Regions from separate parts of the Homo sapiens genome. Here regions 2 and 3 are each linked to region 1. The links are contacts of gene promoters, found by promoter capture Hi-C in blood cells and fetal thymus (Javierre and others, 2016). All regions are on one chromosome and are shown on one strand. Each heading gives the region's core, a stretch centred on a gene start or on the middle of the fragment in contact. The rest is flanking DNA. Distances are from core to core; before and after follow the strand shown. Region 1 holds the start of LAYN (layilin). Region 2 overlaps ALG9 (ALG9 alpha-1,2-mannosyltransferase). Region 3 overlaps ALG9 (ALG9 alpha-1,2-mannosyltransferase).

Region 1 (4,592 bases), core at 1,384-3,883:
AGGTTTACTGAACTCCTACTATGTGCCATAAACTATGGTAAGGGCTTAACATTTACTTACATACTTTATCTCATGTAACCCTCATAATAGTCCCCTGATGCAGATACTGTTTATGGCTTATTTTACAAATGAGAAAACTGGAGCTCAGGGAAGTTAAGTAATTTGGCCAAGATCACACAGTGATCATCAGCATCACCGGAGTTAGAGCCCAGATCTAATTACAAAATCATGCTGGTACCAGTGAACTAAATTGCTAGCTCCCCGCTGCACCCCAGGCTCATGTTTTACTGGGAGCCTATGTAATGTGTCTTATCAGTCTGTCCCCTGAAGGGCTGAAGATCATCTCAGACAAACAGATGGGATTTTACTGAGGAGCCAATAACAAATCGCTCACAGTACACACTGCTCTAGCTTGCGTCTGTGTGACTGAAGCCTTGCTGCAATGGAGACACTAGCCTCATCACTCCTTTCATTCAATCAACATTTATTGAGTGTACACTTTGTGCCTGGCACTGTGCGAGGTGCTGGGAATACAGGAACAAAAGCTACTTCCTAACCCACAGGAGCACACAGCATATGTTTCCGGATTCAAATGTTCAAAGTGAAAACCACGTATCAACACGGGGAGTAGTCCCCCTGCAAAGAGAAAGCCAAATTGTGGGCTGTGGGTGCGAACTGCTGCCACAGTGCCGGGGGTAAAATATTTTGGTTTGGGAACCTCCTCCCAGAACTTCTGGAATGTTCTTGTTTTCCCAACTTGTTTTACAGCTGCGCAGGGAGCCAGATAGCATTCATTAATTCCCAACACTGGCCAGCATATAGGGCAAGGGGCCACAGACAGATAGAACTATATGATTAGTGCTAAATGAGAAAGAGCACATACAGATTATCCAGAAAGCTCCAGTGAGTCTTCATTTTCTATTTCTTCTCTCATCACTTTCATAAAGGAATTCTCAATGAGCAACAAGTTATAAGAGTTCCACATCTTCTCCCTTTTCCTGTCATTATTTGGCTATTGCTGATAATAGAGAAACTCTAATTAGACTGGTCCAGCAGCACATTAGGAGGGTTCAAAAGCCAGACCTGCTTGCAAGAAGGTATTCAGAGAGGCTGAGGCAGGGATACCCCCGGGAAGGGGGCTGGGCCAGCCACGCTTTTGCGATTCCTCAAAGCTGGCTCCAAATTGGGCAGCAGAGGAGGGGCAAATGAGCCCCCAGGAACTTATCCAACCTGGCCACCGGCATAACATAAGCTGGAGTTGAATTTCCTGACAACCCCCACTTTCCATGTTGGATTGTCAAGGGAAACATAACACCTTAAGCGAGTTTCCTGTATGGTCCAGCCTGGCCACACATCCGAAGTCTGCGGGTGAGTGCCAGAGACCGTCAGAGCTGGAAGGAGGCCCGCGGGCCTATCTGGTTCTCCTGCCTTCAGGAAGTGTCCTTCTCTTCTCATTTGCAGGAAGGCGAAGGGTGGGAGGGCCTTCTGTTCCCCGCGACCAAGGACAGAGCCCACGCAGCCCTAACCCAAGCAGCTCAATTCAGCTTCCCACCTCTTTTGCCGCCCCGCCCCCATCCTGAAACCAACTTTACATTCTTTAAATTAGTTTCGCAAGCCAGGATGCCAGAGTAGAGGAGGTTCCCAGTCTCCTCTGTCCCGTTTGGTCAAGCTGTTGGCACCCGCAAAAAGGATCTGAGAAAAGGGCACGGATGTTCTCCCCCCGACATGCAGAACAACTGAAAGAAGCCAGAAGCCAGAGCACTTTACCTCCTCTGAGGTCCAAATCCGAGGCTGCAGTGACACAACAGGAGGAAGGAAGCAGAGAGTCATTCCCCGGAGTCAGGTGGGGCTCGTCCCACACTAACTGGAGTTCTTTCCCGATCTCTAAGCGCTCTCATACCGGGCGCTCGACCCAGCCATCCAACCCCGCAGAAGAGACGAGGAGTAACAGGCAGGGTTCCCACGGCACCGGGGATCCAGCATCCCTACCCCGCTGTCTCTGCGGCCGCCTCCCGGAGCGGGCGGTAGGCGGGGGCCAGCTGGCAAGCCTGCCCCGCGGGGGTGGTCCCAAGGACTGATTCGATGCGTGTAAAGGAGCGGGCCGAAGGGGCACCCACTGGGGCAGGTTTGCCCACTGCCCCACCTCTCCTACATTCTCCAACCCACCCCCATAACTCTGGACTGGGAACGGGCTTCGAGCGTTCCAGGACGCGCAGGGAACTGCGCAGCTCCGGGAACTGGCGTGGGTCTCAGACGCCGTGCGACTGCCCCCAGAACGCAAGAGACTCCGAAGGGCTGCGTCTGGGAGTGGGGCATGGGACGGCCTTCTAGTCCCATACGTGGCGACCCAGAAGAGGGTCAGCAGCAGCTGGGGTGCAGTGAGCCCACCCCGGCACCAGCCCCCGCCCCAGCGCGCGCACTCACCACTCAGCAGGCGACCCGTCGCGGCCCGCAGCCCCACCAGCAGCACGGCCAGCAGCACGGCCTGTAGCGCGGTTCCCGGCCTCATGGCCCGACTCGGGTGCGCCCCCCGACACTCGGGCGCTACGGCGGTGGAGCGGGCTGGCGGGCAGAGGCGTGCGCGACAACTGCAACCGCGGCAGCAGCATCTCTAGGCCACCGACGGACCGCACGGGAGGCGGGGGGGAGGGCGCGGAGTCAGTCGGTCGCCCCTCCGCCCCCTGGGACGTCACTGCGAGGAGGGCAGCCCCGCTGGCTGGCCCGCCCCCGACAGCCTCCTCCAGCGAGGTTGGCGCCAGACACTCGGCCAGCCAGAGAGGGGCGAGTCGCAGAGGGGAACCAGCTCCCTGTCCCCCTCCGAGCTTCCCTGGGAGATCCCGCGTTTGCCCGAGGCGCTGGGCGGAGGAATACTTCAGTCGGGCCCCTAGGCAATCTGATAACGAGCACAGTGTGCCTAAAACTAGCACCACATCTCACCCCTCCTCTCCCGCTGACCTTAGCCAAGTTCGCCAGCTGTGCGGGTGCACCTGGAGAGAGAGGCGATGCGTGGACTCCTACCTGGGGCTCAGCAGGCCGCAGTCCCAGCACGAAGGGCGACGCCTGAGCAGGGAATGGTCGATGCAGAGAACAAACACTCACGCAGGCAGTGTGCCCACCGGCCAGGAAAGTTATGGGACACCGCGCGGATGGCATCCAAAGAACTTGGCTGAGTTGGAGCCCTCCCGACTGAAAGGAAAGCGGCTTCTACCAGAAGCCAAAAGATGTCCCAGATCCCTGGAAGGAAATGATTCTGTTTTTTGCAGGGAACAGGTTGGGAGGTGGGGGTCATAGTTAGGGAGTTCAGCTTTGGCCCCTCGCCCCGCAGGAAAGAATGAAACTATTATCTCAGGAAAAGCTTTCCTAACCTAGCCCTCAATGTGTGCTTCCTCTTGTAAACTCCCAAAGTAGGTGTGTTTCACTTTGGTTTCGTAAACAAAATGCTTTTAAATATAGTCAAGCAATAGAGTGAGCCATCTGTCCAAAGATTAAGGCACTAAGTAGCAGAAGGTGAATCTGACTTTCTGCCTTTTCTGCCACACCATGCTGCTGTGAAGCATAGCAGAAGCCCCATCTGGGCCACGACCTCTGGATTTTGGTTCCAGCTTGCTGCTTCTTACGTACTCTTTCTGCTTTTCAAAACAGCCAAGAAAGCAGTGATGCTTCTAAGGCCTCTAGCCACTGCAATTCTAAACAAACAGCCTGAATACAGGCTGGGGGTGAGAGGGGAGTGGGATGAATTTCAGTATCAGCTGAGACTATGGGGGAGCTCTGCTGCGGCACGTAACAGCTAACAGCGGTTGTGGCAGGATGAGGCCTGACCTTTATGGCAAGATCATTTATAGACCTTCCTTCTGTCCCAGTTAGAATACGTCAATGTCACATCTAACACACTTTCTTCTTAGAAATTCTTGGTTATCAAAACAACTTGAGAGAACTGTTATGGTGAAAAGAAGCACTGGAGTTGGCATTTGAGGGTCTGTTTCAGATTCTGCTCTTCATTTAATGTCTGTGTGGCCTTTGGCAATTCCGTTTGCCTAAGTTTCACTTAACTGTTGGTAACATTAACAGTTGCCTTAAGAGTTTAGTGAGTGTTTGATAAGGCAAATATATATGTAAATGTTCAGATATCTAGGCACTTAATGTCAATTGAAAAGGATTTATTTCTAATATTATAACATCTGCTACAACTTTAAAAAGCTGTTACATAATTAAATCGTGTCCCGACTTCTCGCTTTGATACCCTGGACCTTGGTTCAGATGGATTTTGTTAGGGTATACAGTCAACCAAACCTGGTAGATTACAATAACGGCCCCAATTCTCCACACCTCCCTGTACCCATATCCTTTACCATATGACTTTGTAGTTTCTCTTTCTAAAGAGGCAGAGTATATTTCCCCACACCTTGACTTTGTGTTTGACCATGTGATTGACTTGTTTGGCTAACAGAATGAGTCAGTTCTGAGCTTAGACCAGAAAGGCCTCATATTTCTTTTTCTTCTCTGCCACTCTCTGAGAGGAACATACCTTAGATATCCCACTGGTCTATGTGTATCCCTAAGAGGATGACAAATGGAGCAGAGCTACCTCAGGC
Region 2 (4,592 bases), core at 723-3,222, 310 kb before region 1:
ACGGAGTTTCACTCTTGTTGCCCAGGCTGGAGTGCAATGGCACGATGTTGGCTTATCACAACCTCCGCCTCCTGGGTTCAAGTGATTCTCCTGCCTCAGCCCCCCAAGTAGCTGGGGCTACAGGCGTGCGCCACCACACCTGGCTAATTTTGTATTTTTTAGTAGAGACAGGGTTTCTCCATGTTGGTCAGGCTGGTCTTGAACTCCCGACCTCAGGTGATCCGCTCACCTTGGCCTCACAAAGTGCTGGGATTACAGGCATGAGCCACTGCGCCTGGCCCAGTCTTCCTTCTTTCTTGCCCCCAGCATCTTTTTTTCCACCAAGCTCCTTGTATACTCTTTGTTCCCACTACTTCTGTTCTAGTGTGTGGTACCTTAATTTCTTACCTGTACCACAGGTAATTTAGGAAAATATTTTAATCTGATGCTAAGGTTATTTTAGAAGGATTATATCTTTATTGTAAAAAAAAAAAAAAAAAGTAAGTACCAGATTGTATAAGGTAAAAACAATTCCTAATTTTCTTCTCCGCTAGCTCAATCCTCAAAGATAGTCACTGCTAATAGTTTGGTATATGTCTTTCCAGAAAAATTATGCTGTGTGTATAAATATTTGTATACATACCTATCTACATTCTTAAAACAAATGGAATTATTCTGTATATATATAGGTATTCTACATATTAAATTTATATAATTGTTTATATTGGTTGCATAACATTCCATGATTTACTTATTGCCTTATTGGTAGACATTTGGTTTTCATTTTTTTACTGTTATAACCAATGCTTCAGTGAACAATTTTTTTTTCTTTTTTTTTTTTTTTTTTTTGAGATGGAGTCTTGCTCTGTCACCCAGGCTGGAGTGCAGTGGCACGATCTTGGCTCACTGCAACCTCTGTCTCCCGGGTTCAAGCAATTCTCCTGCCTCAGCCTCCCAAGTAGCTGGGTTTACAGGCACATGCCACCACGCCCAGCTAATTTTTGTATTTTTAATAGAGACGAGGTTTTACCATATTGGCCAGGCTGGTCTCGAACTCCTGACCTCGTGATCCACCTGTCTCGGCCTCCCAAAGTGTTGGGTTTACAGGTGTGAGCCATCGTGTCCGGCCCAGTGAACATTATTATACAGATATCTTTGTGCACTTGTGGGAATTTACCTATGGGGTAAATTTTTATGAGGGGAGTTACTAAGAGAATAGTCCATTTTAAAATTTCTTAAGTGCCTTTTAAAGGCTGGTTTCCTCATCTCCATTCCTTTCTTCTATTCTATTTTGCACATTCTCAGATTTTCATGTTCCTCAGGATTGTATCTTAGGTCCTCTTCTGTACTTTCTGCTATCTCTCAGCCATCTTGGTGATTCCCATAGCTTAATGTCTAGTCCAGTTATCTCTCTTGAGCTTCATTCATATATTCCCAGCTGCTTAGTAGATAGCTGCTGAATTCATTATCTTCTCTCCATAGCTGTTCCTTTACTTGTGTTTCTATTCCAGTAAATAGTACTGCTGTCTCCTCAATACTGACCCAGAAACCTGAAAATTGTCTGTGACTCTTCTCTCTTTCCCATCAGTGTTAATTGGTTGTATCTCCTGAATATCTTTTGAATCTGATTACTTGTCTTCACTCCCCCTTGTTCCTGGATCACTACACGGCCTCCTAAATGATCTCCTCCTCTCTAGTCTTGACCCCTGTAAATCAGCTCTCCAAACTCCACTAGAGTTATATTCCTCAAATGCAGATGTGGTTGTATCACTTCCCTGTTTTAAACTCTATGGCAGCTTCTCCATTGCTTTATGTCATGGAGGTTGGCCGACTGACCTGTTTTTGTATAGCCCAACAACTAAATAGTTTTTACGTTTTTAAAGGGTTTTTAAAAAACAACAAACATACACAGAGGGAGAAGACTATGCAACAGAGAACATATGTGGCCTGCAGACCCTAAAATATATACCGTCAGATCCTTTAAATAAAAAGTTTGCCAACCCCTGCCCTGTGGTATCCAAACTCAAAGATAACACAGAAAGCCCTGCATGGTCTTCCTTTTACTTTTCCAGCTTCTTTTTGTCAGTTCTTCCATTCCTTTCATTCACTATTTCATCTACATTGAATTTCACTGAGTTCCTCAAATACCTCTTGGGTGCCACATTTCGATGAGTCTGCCTTTACCAAGATAAGTGATTTCAGGATCACAATTAGTCAGTTAGCAATCAGTATACTGTCATTCATTGAATGCTTTGTGCTAGATACTGCTGATATTTTAGAAATTAGACAGTCATGGTTCCTGCCCTTTTGGAACTTAACATTTTAGTAGGAAAGACAGATATTGGACAAGTAATTAAAAGTATGACTTATCAAAGGAGAAATACAGGTGCTATGGAAATGGAAGTAGTTGGGGTGACAAAAAATAAAAACGCAAAATGTTATACGGAATTTACATAACAACATGGAGGTTCAAATCACAGAAGAGGTACTGTGACAGCACATGACATTGCTAAATCAATGATAGAGATGATGATGCCATATAAATTCAAAGATGGGGCCAGGCGTGGTGGCTCATGCCTGTAATTCCAGCACTTTGGGAGGGCGATGCAGGCAGATCTCCTGAGGTCAGGAGTTTGAGACCAGCCTGGCCAACATGGTGAAACCCTGTCTCTACTAAAAATACAAAACAATTAGCGGGGTGTGGTGGTGCACACCTGTAGTCCCAGTTACTTGGGAGGCTTAGGCAGGAGAATTGCTTGAACCCAGGAGGCGGCAGTTGCAGTGAGCTGAGATCACACCACTGCACCCAGCCTGGGCGACAGAGTGAGACTCTGTCTCAAAAAAAAAAAAAAAAAAAAAAAATTAGCCAGGGCTGATGGCCTGTGCCTGTAGTCCCAGCTACTCGGGAGCCTGAGGCAGGAGAATGCTGGAACCTAGGAGATGGAGGCGGTAGTGAGCCGAGATTGCGCCACTGCACTCCAGCCTGGGCAATAGAGTGAGACCCTGTCTCAAAAAAAAAAAAAAAAAAAAGTCTGTAATAAGGTTATTACTAAAATCCTAGTAAATCATGGAAGGGTGAGGTTAGTACTTATTTATTTGGCAGGGTGGGTGTAAGACAGTAGGGCACATATATTTTAAATTTCTGTTACCCATAAATGTGTATAAAATGGAATTCATTCCAGCAGCTCAGTAATTCTATTTCTTGTGCATCAGTGGGATACAGAGCACTCTGACAGGTCCTGTGACGACATCCTCTCACATACCAGGTTTCTTCCCTCACTATAACTGGCAGAGGCATTTTATTCTCAGTTCAGCATGAGGTATGTGTGAATCTGATTTGTCTCTGTCAGTATTTATTTAACTCCCCGCTCTGTTTCTCTGTTAAATAGTTTACCCATTGCCTTTGATTTGCTGGTCATGAAACACAGGTGGAAGAGTTTCTTTCATTGGTCGCTGATGGCCCTCATACTATTTCTGGTGAGTTTTCTTTTTTACTTGCTTTGTCCTAAAGTTGTAATGAAAGCAACTTTGATGTGAAAAAAGGAACATCAGGAGTTTATTCTGTTTTTCATTCTCAGGTTTATCCTATTAGCATTTTGAGAATGTTTCTAGATCAAAACTATTTTCTGCTCTGTTTTAGGTGCCTGTGGTGGTCATTGACAGCTACTATTATGGGAAGTTGGTGATTGCACCACTCAACATTGTTTTGTATAATGTCTTTACTCCTCATGGACCTGATCTTTATGGTAAGGCTTTGTGAAATTTGGGCAAGTGTTAGGAGATAGCTTAATTTGCCTGAACTTCAGCATTTTAATTCAGTTGCCTCGTATTATTAGATGTAGCATTTCTTGGCTGATATTATCTTTTCCTATTTAAAAATGACATCTGAGTATAGCACAATGATGACACGTAGCCACTCAAATATTTCTCCTTGATTAATGTGATATTCCAATACTGGCTCTCTATTTTTCCTGTTTGTTATTTTCACTTTCAGAGTTTTGAGGACTCTGGGTATGCTATGGCTTTTGATGCTTTTTTTTTTTTTAATTAAAAGTTACTTTTTTCTCTTCTTATTAAAAAATCAGTATGATAGGAGAAGGAAATGAAAGCATAATACTATCATCTCCATATAACTATTACTAACACCTGGGAGTATACCCCAGACATTTTTTTTTTTTTTTTTGAGGTGGAGTTAGACTCTTGTTGCCCAGGCTGGAGTGCAGTGGCGCGATCTTGGCTCCCTGCAACCTCCACCTCCTGGGTTCAAGTGATTCTCCTGCCTCAGCCTCCCGAATAGCTGGGATTACAGCTATTAGCCCGCCACCATGTCTGGCTAATTTTTTTGTATTTTTAGTAGAGACGGGGTTTCTCCATGTTGGCCAGGCTGGTCTTGAACTCCTGACCTCAGGTGATCCACCCGCCTTGGCCTCCCAAAGTGCTGGGATTACAGGCATGAGCCACCGTGCCCGGCCCAGACATTTTCTATATATACACACATTTGATGTTACTTTTTCTCTTCCAGATTTGCTTTACTTCAATTCCAGCATTTGGGGAGAAAGTTTGGAAAATCTGTAGACAAAGTTACAGCGATTGGGGCTGGGCTGGGGTCAGCA
Region 3 (4,592 bases), core at 1,074-3,573, 270 kb before region 1:
AGATTGGGCCTTGATATCTTTCTAAGACCTTTACTTTAAATGGAATTTGCTTAGGGATGATATGATAAATGAAGCCTAATCTGACTGATACAGTTGCATATTAATTAGTTACCACCCACATCCCTGGTAGGCCTTGTACCCGACACCAAATCTAGATAACCAGACCTGTAGTGTGCCTGGCCAGAAAAAGCCACGTTGAGGTCAAGTATTAAAATGTCATACTGAGGGCTCCCTAACCAAAAGAAATCTAAGCATAAGACCCTCAGTGTCTCTGTCTCTTGTTGGTTCTGTTTGCTTACAGAGGCATGGCACTTGTAAAGCTTTTAAAAACTTGTTTCATGTTCTTATAATCCTTGGGAGATACAGAGTGGGTGTTCAGACCAAAAAGGCTACTTCCTGAAGTGTTTATGCAAAGGATCATTTTTAGAGAGTTATGTGGAATGGAATTGGGTCTGACGTCAATTCTCAGTGTGCTTTCTCTCCCCTGGAGGAATAGGCCATATGTAGAGACAGATGTGAGACTGAAGTCTTTTTTACATATAAATAATGCTGGGAGAGAATGAGAACATTTCTGTAAGGTGGAGGTTGGGGAAGAACAGAGTTCACGGTAAGCCAGAGATGACCAACTTGTTTTTGTATGCACTTCTAAAAAACCTTCTAGTAATGTATAATCTATAAGCCTAAATGTGTGTAAAGTATTTGTACAGTAAATTAGTAGTAATAATAATAGAGCAAGTGTCTGTGTAACCCAGGTCAAATAATAGAACATTGCCAGCACCCAGGAGCTCCCCCAGAATTCCTTTTGATCACCTACCCACACCCCTGTTCTGAGGGAGTCTCCTGACTCCTGTGGTAATGATTTTCTTGCTTTTCTCTTTAGATTTATGACTTTTACATGTGTCCCTAAATGACTTAGGTTCATTTTGCCTGAATCACACTGCATTTATCCTTTTGTGTCTTGATCTTTTCACTCAACATTTTGTTTATAATAATCACACATGTTATTGCCTGTGGTTTGTTCTCTCTTATTAATATTTCATTGTATGACTTTACCACAATTTATTGATTATTTTACTGTTGACGGGTGTTTTTGTTTCCAATCTGGGTTACTACAGATAACACCACTTTGAACATTCTTGAACTTTTCTTTTGGTGCAGGCATTTCTGTTGGATATACATTAGGTTGAACCATATGAATTACCATTTTTGTGGCTCAAACATCAAATAATAATTTCATGTGGTTCAATCTAATAATTAGGGGTAGAATTGTTAGATCATAGGAAATACATATGTTCAATTTTAGTAGATTTTGCCAAATAGTTTTCTAAAGAACTCTTACCAACTTAATTTCCTGTTAGTAATATATAATTGTTGTTCCACATTCTGGCCAACACTTGATACTGTAATTTTTTTTATTGTGGTTTTCATTTGCATTTGCTGGTTACTAATGAGGTTGAACGCATTTTCACTTGTTGTGGCCATTTCAGTTTATTCTTATAAAGTACCTAAGTCACTTGCCCGTTTTTCTTTTGGGTGGTTTGTCTTTGTCTTGTTGATTAGCAGAAGTTATATATATTCTAGATATGAATCCTTGATGGTTAAATGTATTACATATATCTTCTCTCATTCTGTGTTTTTTTAATTCTTAATGTTTTTTGACTCACTGCAACCTCTACCTCCTGGGCTCAAGCAGTCTTCCTGCCCCAGCCTCCCAAGTAGTTAGGACCACAGGTGTGCACCACCATGCCCAGCTAATTTTTTTATTTTTTGTAGAGATGGGATCTCACTATTTTGCTCAGGCTGATCTTGAACTCCTGGCCTCAAGTGATCCTCCCACCTCAGCCTCCAAAAGTGCTGGGATTACAGGCGTGAGCCACTGCTCCTGGCCTTAATGTGTCTTTTGGTGAAAAGGTATTCTAAACTTTAATATAGTCAAATGTATCGTCATTCTTTTTTATAATTAATGCTTTATCCACAAACTCTTTTACCCAAGATCTTGAAGATATTCTTTTATATTATATTCCGAGAGCTTTATCTTTTCATTTTTAGGCCTATTCATCTAAAGTTGATTTTTGCATGTGGAGTGAGGTTAAAGTTCAATTTCATTTTTCCCCTAAGGGATATCCAGTTGTCTACACCAGCTGGTGAAAAGACAGTCGCTTCTTTGAGGTGTCGCTTCTGTCGTAAATAAGGGTCTGCATGTACCTGCATCTGATCTAGGCTCTTTGTTCTATTTCATTGGTCTGTTGATCTATTCCTCACTGTATTAATTTCTTTTTTTTTTTTTTTTTTGAGACAGAGTCTTGCTCTGTCACCAGGCTGGAGTGCAGTGGTGCAATCTTGGCTCACTGCAGCCACTGCCTCCGGGGTTCAAAGAATTTTCCTGCCTCAGCCTCCTGAGTAGCTGGGACTACAGATGCCCACCACCATGCCTGGCTAATTTTTATATTTTTAGTAGATACGGGGTTTCACCATGTTGGCCAGGCTGGTCTCAAACTCCTGACCTCAGGCGATCCACCTGCCTCGGCCTCCCAAAGTGCTAGGATTACAGGCGTAAGCCACTGTACATGGCCTACTGTATTAATTTCTATAGCTTTACAGTAACTAAGCCCCCACCTTGTTGTTGTTGTTTTTCTTTTTAGTGATGAGGTCTTGCTGTGTCACCCAGGCTGGAATGCAGTGGCATGATCATAGCTTACTGCTGTCTTGACCTCCTGGGCTCAAGCAATTTTCCTGCCTCAATCTCCTGAGTAGCTAGGACTATTGGTACATACCACCATGCCCGGCTAATTTTTAAATTTTTGTGGAAACAGAGTCTCACTGTCTTGCCTAGGCTTATCTCAAATTCTTGGCCTCAAGCTATCTTCCCACTTTGGCCTCCCAAGGTACTAGGATTACAGGTGTGAGCCACCATGCCCAGCCTGTTCTTCTTTTTTAAGAATGCCTTGGCTATTCTTGTCTTTCTGCCTTTCCATACACATTTTAGAATCCGCTTGTTGAGTTTCAAAAAAGTCTGTTAGGATTTTGATTGACATTATATTTAATTTATCAATCAATTTGTTTAGAATTGACATATTTATAATAGTAAGGTTTTTGTCTAGGAATAAAATATATCACTACATTAATAAGGTCTACTTTATTGTGTATCAAAAAAATTATTTGAAATAAAATTCACCATTTTAATGTTTTTTAATTATAAAATATGCACAACACAAAATTTACAATTTTAATCATTTTAAAGCATACAATTCAATGGCTTTTAGTACATTTATAATGTACAACTCTCACCAGTATCCAAGTTTAGAAGATTTTTATTATGCCTCCCCCCCAAAAAAACCCATACCCATTAAATATCCATTAAGCAGCCACTCCCCAGTTCATAGTAACCTCTGTTTTCTGTCTTGGAGGATTTGCCTATTACGAACATTTCATATAAATGGAATCGTATATATGTGGCCTTTGGTGCCTGGCCTTTTTCAGTCACAGCAATATTTTTAAGGTTTATCTGTGGCATAGGCTGTATCAGACCTTCATTCCTTGTTATGGCTGAGTACTGTTCTATTGTATGGATATACCACATTTTAATGGTATGGATATACCACATGAATCTATCTGTTGATGGGCATTTGTCAATAAAATTCTATCCTTTTTTTTTTTTTTTTTTTGAGACAGAGTCTTACTCTGTTGCCCAGGCTGGAGTGCAGTGGTGTAATCTTGGCTCACTGCAACCTCCACCTCCCAGGTTCAAACAATTCTCCTGCCTCAGCCTCCCAAGTAGCTGGGATTACAGGCCTGTACCACCACACCCAGCTAATTTCTGTATTTTTAGTAGAGATGGGGTTTCCCCATGTTGGCCAGGCTGATCTTGAACTCCTGACCTCAGGTGATCTGTCCACCTGGGCCTCCCAAAGTGCTGGGATTACAGGCGTGAGCCACCGTGCCCAGCCAATAAGATTCTATACTTTTTTATGGAGCACTTTCATCTTTTATTATATTTATTCTAAGGTAAACATTTTCAAATGCTTGTAAATTATATTTTTATAAAATTTCATTTTGTTTATTGCTATGGAACATATGACATTGATTGACATCCTGTAAGTCTAAATTTTGCTAAACTGTCTTAATAATTCCAAAATGTATTTGTAGAGTCTTTTGGACCATTATATCATTGTGATGAATGAGTTTTGTTTCTTCCTTTCTGTTTCTTCTGCCCTGTGTTTCTTTTTCTAGTCTTACCCTACTGACTAGATCCTCTAATACAGTGCTGAACAGAGTAGTGACAGCAAGCAGCCTTGACTTATTCTGGATCCCAAAGGAAAAGCTTTTAGTCCTACAACATCAAGTGTGATATTTGCTGCATATCTGTACATGTTTCAAATAGTCTTTATTTTAGCTGACATCTAACAACCTAAGAGGACTCTTTTTTGGTTTTAATTGTTTTAAAAATATTTTTTTGAAGCAGGTCTCTCTTTTGCCCAGGCTGGAATGCAGTGGCATGATCTTGGCTCACTGCAGCCTTGACCTCTGAGGCTCAAGTGATCCTCCCACCTCAGCCTCCTGAGTAGTTGGAACTACAGATATGTGCCACCACA

Evidence for each region. Contacts are between HindIII fragments. The CHiCAGO score rates a contact against its expected background, and 5 or more counts as called.
Region 2: a fragment that was not itself captured here is called in contact with the fragment with the promoter of LAYN in region 1 in 9 of 17 cell types (naive CD4 T cells, fetal thymus, naive CD8 T cells and 6 more); the score reaches 7.9 in naive CD4 T cells.
Region 3: a contact is called between a fragment that was not itself captured here and the fragment with the promoter of LAYN in region 1, in 1 of 17 cell types (naive CD4 T cells). The highest score is 5.3, in naive CD4 T cells.

What each region holds. Positions count from the first base shown.
Region 1 is chr11:111,538,761-111,543,352 of GRCh38, reverse strand. It overlaps LAYN (layilin), which reads right to left and starts at 2,633. Exons shown (of 7, transcript NM_178834.5): 1 at 2,425-2,633. The coding sequence starts at 2,509. RefSeq lists an enhancer at 2,851-3,530. The HindIII fragment of the contact is 6,714 bases long and covers 1-3,357 here.
Region 2 is chr11:111,852,513-111,857,104 of GRCh38, reverse strand. ALG9 (ALG9 alpha-1,2-mannosyltransferase) reads left to right here. Exons shown (of 15, transcript NM_024740.2): 7 at 3,369-3,456; 8 at 3,620-3,725. Among named protein-coding and RNA genes, the nearest start is that of ALG9, 17 kb to the left of the region's middle. The HindIII fragment of the contact is 6,586 bases long and covers 1-4,592 here.
Region 3 is chr11:111,810,616-111,815,207 of GRCh38, reverse strand. The region is part of intron 13 of ALG9 (ALG9 alpha-1,2-mannosyltransferase); the gene reads left to right. Among named protein-coding and RNA genes, the nearest start is that of PPP2R1B, 47 kb to the right of the region's middle. RefSeq lists an enhancer at 1-541. The HindIII fragment of the contact is 4,001 bases long and covers 323-4,323 here.